2 separate regions of the Homo sapiens genome follow, and region 2 is linked to region 1. The links are contacts of gene promoters, found by promoter capture Hi-C in human tissues and cell types (Jung and others, 2019). All regions are on one chromosome and are shown on one strand. Each heading gives the region's core, a stretch centred on a gene start or on the middle of the fragment in contact. The rest is flanking DNA. Distances are from core to core; before and after follow the strand shown. Region 1 holds the start of HCRTR2 (hypocretin receptor 2). Region 2 has its middle 41 kb from the start of HCRTR2.

The links. The method cuts DNA at HindIII sites, captures the fragments that hold promoters and counts their contacts. A contact is called where the count stands out against the background at its distance.
Region 2: a fragment that was not itself captured here is called in contact with the fragment with the promoter of HCRTR2 in region 1 in 4 of the 25 tissues and cell types used here (H1 embryonic stem cells, adrenal gland, heart right ventricle and 1 more).

The regions. Positions count from the first base shown.
Region 1 is chr6:55,172,744-55,176,481 of GRCh38, forward strand. HCRTR2 (hypocretin receptor 2) reads left to right here and starts at 1,772. Exons shown (of 7, transcript NM_001384272.1): 1 at 1,772-2,067. The coding sequence starts at 1,845. The HindIII fragment of the contact is 12,053 bases long and covers 1-3,738 here.
Region 2 is chr6:55,132,005-55,135,742 of GRCh38, forward strand. It overlaps a transcript of HCRTR2 not described here. Among named protein-coding and RNA genes, the nearest start is that of HCRTR2, 41 kb to the right of the region's middle. The HindIII fragment of the contact is 3,256 bases long and covers 288-3,543 here.

The DNA.
Region 1 (3,738 bases), core at 522-3,021:
GCCCTCAGGGGTTTAAAAATGCATATGAAATAATTTTATAAACCATAAAGCACAAAACAAATATGAAAAATTATGATTGGAGGAGGGGGTGGGGTAGTTAACTAAATCTCAGTGTAAACCACCAATGTCTTGTGTGTGTTGAAAAAATAATTACATATAAAAACTGGTTGCATCCAAAGAATAATGTACTTTTTGCACTGGCAAGACTCAAACCATATTATTGTTACTTCCTCCCAGTTACATATTTTGCAAGATATTGACAATTGTCTAAAGGAAGACCAAACAGATGTAGGTGGGAGCTACTGTCATTTGAACAACATTGAAAAGAAAAATACTAAAAAAGAAACATGAGGGCATATAAAGGAGCGCTGGGGCTGTGATGTTTATTTTGAATCTGTGAAGCATTGTCATGTGGAAGATTTATTCTGTGTAGCACCAAGATGCAAACTAGGAATTAGAGGTAAAAGTCTCAAAAAGACAAATCGTGGCTTGAGACCTTGGTTTAATGTAAGAAACAGTTTTCTCACCCTTAGAGCACTCCCATAAGGATGGAAGTAGTGAATTGTGGTGGTCACATTCAAGCTAGATGGGGACATGTCAGCAATGTTATCAGGAGGCTTCTACTCTGAAGCTGAAGTTCAGACAAGATTTCCAGGCTCTTCCCAAGTGCAAGATTGTAATTACTTAAATGCAATATTTTTACCATGTTTATTAAGAATAAAAGGATCATGAATTCACATTCTGACAAATGCTAGAATACTTATTATTAGAGACAAAACCAGTGCATGAGAGAATGGCAGGTGACATCAGCCCTGAATCAATGGGAAGAAAGACCCAATGGGATGTGGTATTTACCAGAGAGAGCACTTCTGCTTAGATTGCTACATCCTACAGTGAATGTTTAATATCATTGAGTATATTGGTGGTCTGTCATGCTTGACAACATTAACTATGATCATATTTATGACACTTGGCGTCCTTCAAGAATTTGTAGCTCTATTTCACATGACACTTAACTATCGCAAATACAAATTCCAGCTAAATAGACCCTTCAGTTTAAAAACAGTCTCATTCTCAAATTTTAAGGAGAAAGTGAAGACGGAGATGTCTTAAAGACTCGGCAAGTACTAAGTTGGCAAATGTCAAATGTTAAAATAAGTTTATATTAAATGTTAAAGTGTTTGCCTGGAATGACTTTTCCATTGTCCTGCTTGAGAAACACAGAGGCACCTCCTTATTGCTTTTATATTTGCTTTACAAAGACAAATGTATCAACATGCTCTGTATTAATTGTATGTTGACATTTTTGTCATATCCACAGACTGATGCATGTCTGTGCATGGTTTATAATAAGTGCACGTAAAAATAGAGAAAATAAGTAGAAAAAGAGAGAGATTTAACTCTCACCCCCCACCCCCCAAAAAAACAGATTAAATTAGTTTTCATTACTTTTTTTTTTTTCTTCAGCTTCAGCTCTCCCTCAGCGAGGGAGGAGGCTGTGGGCTGCGGACTGAGTGCTGGAATGAGGAGTAATTGAGCTTCAGCTGAGCCGGACGTAGCTTTCTCCTCCTGGTGTCATTGCTGCAGCCTCCAGTGCCGGGTCCCTAGTTCCTCAGCTGCCTATCTTCCCGGTGCAACATCGCCTGTAAAGACAGCAAAGCCACCGCAGAAGTTGCCCGGCAGAAGACTCCGGAGGCATTGGCTCAGTAACTTTTCACGTCATTTTCTGCTCGGGAGCCCCTTCTAGCCTCTCCGCGCAGCCTTTCCCACCGCAAATCACCAGTGCTCATGGGGCAGGCGGAGAGGAGCTTGCAGCATTGAGCGGAACCGGACTTGAGCCCGTGATGTCCGGCACCAAATTGGAGGACTCCCCCCCTTGTCGCAACTGGTCATCTGCTTCGGAGCTGAATGAAACTCAAGAGCCCTTTTTAAACCCCACCGACTATGACGACGAGGAATTCCTGCGGTACCTGTGGAGGGAATACCTGCACCCGAAAGAATATGAGTGGGTCCTGATCGCCGGGTACATCATCGTGTTCGTCGTGGCTCTCATTGGGAACGTCCTGGGTGAGTCTCCTCCCGGGCAGCCCTCCTAGGGGCTATCACCCCCTCTCCGCCCCGGGCTGAGAAGGCTCTAAAGAGACCCCTCCCTCCCCCGGGAAGCAAACAAAGAGGTCGCTGCTCTCGGATGGGGTTTTCTAATAAAATAATAATAATAATAGAAAGTTTTCTGATTTTCCGAACCGGGACCGAGCCCTGGAAAGGTTATTCCCTGTTTTGCAGGAATAACGGGGAAACCGCGTTTCTTTTTCGAGCACCTAGATTACAAGCGCAGGGAGAGGGGCCGCGGCAGGGATCTCCAGGTGGATTTTGTTGAGTGTGTGTGTGTGTGGGTGGGTAGGTGGGGGAGTCAGTCATCCCTTTGTGTAACGTGGCTGGGTGTTTCAGGGGGGTTGGGACGAGACAGAGCTTGCAGAATACAAAGCTACATCCCTAAGGAGCAAGCTCTCTGTGGCTGTGGAAGTCACAAAGCATTTGTGAGCTAGGTGGCATTGCCCTTTGGCGAGGAGGTTTAGTCTCCAGTCAAGAGGTGGTAATGAACCAGCAGGGAGTGGAGACGGAGGCAAAGCAGGGAAGTGCACTCACTCATAGAAGCTGAATTAAACAGGATCCATGCCTGGAGCAAGAAGGAGGGGCATCGGAGAAAAGTACCACAGAGATCTCAATCATCCATCCATCCATTCATTCTTACATCCATTCAGCCAAATATTTTTTTTTTTCAGTCTGCTTGTTGCCAGGCTCAGGAATTATTCATGTCAACTGTTTGTTGTTGTTTTGTTTTGTTTTGTTTTCTCCAAAGATGAGACTAAGCTTAATGCTAGGCTATTTGTCCCGGTCTAGGTCTGTATGCAAACACGGGTTTCCTCGACCCCTCATCCCCCTCCCCCTAAACAATTTCTGAGGGTTGGGGAGGGGGTGAGATGGCAACATGGTGAGTGCGATGATGGAATGTATTAGGGCAGTTGGGGAATATACCTCCAGAAAAGGGGCTTTGGAAGGGAGGGATAACTTGAAATAAATTGTGAATGGAAGGAGAGTGTACCTTGATGAATGAAGAGTAGAAGGCTGGGAGACTTTTCACATGCAGAGGGCAGTGTGGAGGAAGTCTCTGCTGAAAATGACAGGAGATGGAGGAGGCTAGGAGTTGCTCTTGATTTTCATTTATAAAAGAAGAAGAAGGTGAGTGAGGTGAGATAGGCTGGGAGGCTTTGCAGTCAAAAGCAAAGAACTTGTAGCTGCAATGGGGACTGACAAGGAAATTATCAGGCTTTCAGACTAACCTGATTTTTGCCTTCTCTCCCAAGTGTGTTGGTCTGGGTAGAAATCATCCCGAGTAGTCTCTCACCAACTCAGCAGGCAGAATAGATGATAGTATGTGAATGACAGGAGTTCTCCAGAGTGTTGGTAGAATGTTATTTGAGGAGACAAGAAACCTCTGAGAACTTTAGTACATTTTTAAATATTATTTTTAGACTGTTTTCCTTTGGTTGATTTAAAAGTAAAAATAAAGGAAATCTTTTTGGGATACTAACAAAATGAAACAAAAGTGGAAATACACAAGATTAGGATTCTTGTTATAAGCATAATTCTGTTGATAATAATCCTAATCTTGCTTTCCTTCTTCTTGTTACCCATCCTTAGGATTACATCTCTTAAGACACATGGCTACCAGCATAG
Region 2 (3,738 bases), core at 666-3,165, 41 kb before region 1:
AAGGTTTTTCTGTAGACTAAATAAATAGCATGAGTTGTACATGTGTTTGTGGCCAATTCTAAACATATATAGATATCCCTTTAATTAATAAAATTAATAATCTTTGAATAACACTTTAATTTTATATTTTTGAATAAACATATAAAAGTTAATGACTATCACAAAAGTCTATTAAACACATACATATATATGATTTGTTAATTTAATAACAAGTTGTCATAATAAAAGTAAATTTGAGGGCAATCATTGTGTCTCCTAAACTCTTTCATAAAATGCACACATTTTAAGTGAGAATGAGTAACCTAAGGGTAGCAAGTAGGTTTTAGCCTTGATTAACTGCTATAGACTGTCTGAAGTGCAGTAGCGAGAAGGATTCTAAAGATGTCTGGGCAAAGTGGAAAAGAATGTAGTTATTGATTATCTATATGTGCCAGGGGCACAAGAAAAAGGAATATTGACACACTATGCATGCCAATCCTGGAGTACGTTAACAGCATTAGATGTTACACAATTAGCCTCAAGAACAGAGAAACAGATGGAATGTGGTGCATTAAAGTTAAATGTTTTTTGGGAGACATAGATTATAAACAGTTATTCAAAGATGAGCTACCCCAGTAGGACATACGTTTCAGATTGAGGTCAGCTCTTAAGCTTAAGGGAAAGAAGACATGGTTAGGGAGCAAAGGAATGGGACAGTGGAGCCCTACTCAGACCAACTCCATTTATACCTCTCCCTCTCTCTCTCTCTTTTTTTTTTTTTTTCGCTGAAAATTATAAAGAGAAACAAACAAACAAAGTGTTTGAAAGTGGTATTGCTTTATGTTTAGATGGGGTTGATCTTCATGAATCATTCTTTGGGGAAAATAATCAACCAAACAGTTTTTTACATAGACACCAGAGACCCATGATGACCACAGCTTTTAAGTTACAGAAGACTTTTCAAAACCAATAGAGGATAAACTAGTGTTTTGTGCAGTTATATTCAAACAATCCTTAAAAACTGGGATAGCTGATAATCTCAAAGTAAGATCCCTGAAATGCTGATATCCACTGTGCAACATTAGTCTTAGCTTGGTAAGATAACAAGGTTGATTTAATCGTTAATTGATACAATATGTTTGTGTTGAATACAAAATCAAATTACCACCAATAAGTAAAATGGTAGGACTTATTTTTAGAGTAAATTTTTTTTACCTCGGTACAGTCTAGCAAGCCTGACATTTCCTGTCTCCTATGTCTTCTTTGCTCTTGTTTTCAGTCCTTTCTCTCATACATTTTTATGCATGCAAAATTGAAGCTAACAGACATATTCTTCCCCCTTGCTTTGTTTCCATAAATGTATGTGTGTGAGAGAGAGATCATATACACATACACACACACAAAAAAACACACACACACACACATCAAGGCATTTCTAAAATTCAGAAGGGGTATGCATCAAGTTAGGAATAACAAATGTCCAAAGTAAAATTATGATATCCATTTCAAAGCTTTCTTCAATTGCTGCATAGTGATCTGAAAGTCAGGAATAACTTATTGATGACCTCACTAACATCAATTTTCATGCCAGTATGGATATCTGTTGGCAATGAAACATTGTACGTTCTAAGAACGAAGACATAGCTATATATCTACATGTATTTATCTATCTATCTATCATCTATCTATCTATCTATCTATCTATCTATCTATCTATCTATATCTCCATCTAGGCATGTTTGTCTGTCTTGGTATTCTTTTAAGCTCAAACATAGCTTTTTATATTAGGAATAAATCTACTACTTGGTTACCTTTAATATTTCTTTCTTAAATAATTTAATAATTTTAGCAGAAGTGAACCTATATGGCTGTTTTTCTTTTATAAAAAATTTCTTGATTTCATTCTATTGCCATAACATAGTATAAAAAGTGGTTATTACAAACAGTTTTTCTTATACAGCAAGTGAGAATATTTATCATTTAGTTAACTGGTCAAATGTCACTTAGTAAATGAAATTGTCCTAATGAAAATTCACACATCTTAGGAACATATACATTTCTTATTTCTTTTCTTTTTTCTTTGATTCCCCCACTTCTTACGTACCTCTTCATTTCTCCACCAAAATTGTGGCAAAACAAACTAAGCACATTTTATTTCTATGGTTATCTAGTGAATTTCATAAGTTGGGTGATAGTCCTTTTAAGTTGAGGAGACTGATTATTCTGTTTTTGTTTGTTTGTTTGTTTGTTTTTTGCTTCAACTCACTCTAAAATTTTCTATCAAAATCTTTTCAAGCAAAACAGAACACAGTATGATAAAGAAATTTATATTTGTCATTATTTATTTTTCCAGGTTTATTGAGATATAATTGGCAAAAAATTTATAATATGATAACTGGATGCCCATATATATAGTTATATGATTAAAATTACATTAATTAACGCATGCATCATCTCACATAGGTACCATTTGTGTGTGTGTGTGTGTATGTATAGTGAGAGCATAAGATTTACCCTCATAGCAAATTTCAAGTATATAGTACAATATTATTAATTATAGTCACTATGCTATATATTAGATCCCCAGATCTTATTCATCTTATAACTGAGAGTGTGTATCTTTTGACCAACATCTCCCCATTTTCTCCACTGCCCTCCCTCTCCCAGACCCTGGTAACTACACATTTTATTCTCTTTCTATGGGATCAACTTTTTAAGACTCCACATACAGGCGACATCATACAGTATTTGTCTTGCTGTGTCTGGCTTATTTCATTTAGCATAATGTCCTCCAGGTTCATCCATGTCATTGCAAATGGCAGGATTTCCTTCTTTTTTGTGACTGAATAATATTTCATTCTCTCTCTCTTTCTCTGTGTGTATATGAAATATTTTCTTCTTTATTCATTTGTCAGCACTTAGGTTATTTCCATACTTTGGCAATTATTAATAATACTGTGATGAACATGGAGTGCAGATATTTCTTCTGAAATCTATATCCTTGGAAGGAAAAATAAAAACCAAGTCTTCTATTTACTTCAACAAGGATGAAGAAAGCTTCGCTAGTAGCAAAGAATGTGGTGGAAAGCCCAGAGTAATGAAGCAGTGGAAAGATGAGGAATTAATGAAATGGCAACAGAAAGTGAATGGTAAAGACTCTACTGTAAAAAATATTTGTCCAAATTTGGCCATTAATTGGGTTTGGAACAAGGAAATATACAGGATTAAAAATGACTTTGAGGTCTCATGCTAGAGTATCCAGCAAAACACTTAGACTTTTGTTGTAAATAAGGAGAAAAAGATAATTTTGTAGAGAGATTTCAGTTTAGATAAAACCCATAATTAGTTCACCTAAATGTGGTCTCCCATGAAAAGAAACACAAATCTAAGGCCGGAAGATTCAGGACTCTTAAAGACCTCTAGCTAATCAGAATATCGTAAAACCTCTATAATATCACTACTCATCTGTTATGGTTTAAATGTATTCCTGAAAGTTGCCCAAAAACCCATTTATCTCTCCTCTCACAAACTCCTCCATATTTTAGAGCAATCAGTTGCTTCAGTTTGTGTTAGTTGGAGTTTGGAATTTGGGTTAAAAATTTCAAATTTGATTAAAGGAGACAATAGATAAGTAAGCCTTATAGTACTTGCTATATCTTGATCCCCTTTCTAAACACTTTACATATATTAACTCCTTGGTTTTCAAAACAACTGTGTAAGTTATTTGCTATCATTTACCCATGTTATAGATGAGAAAAC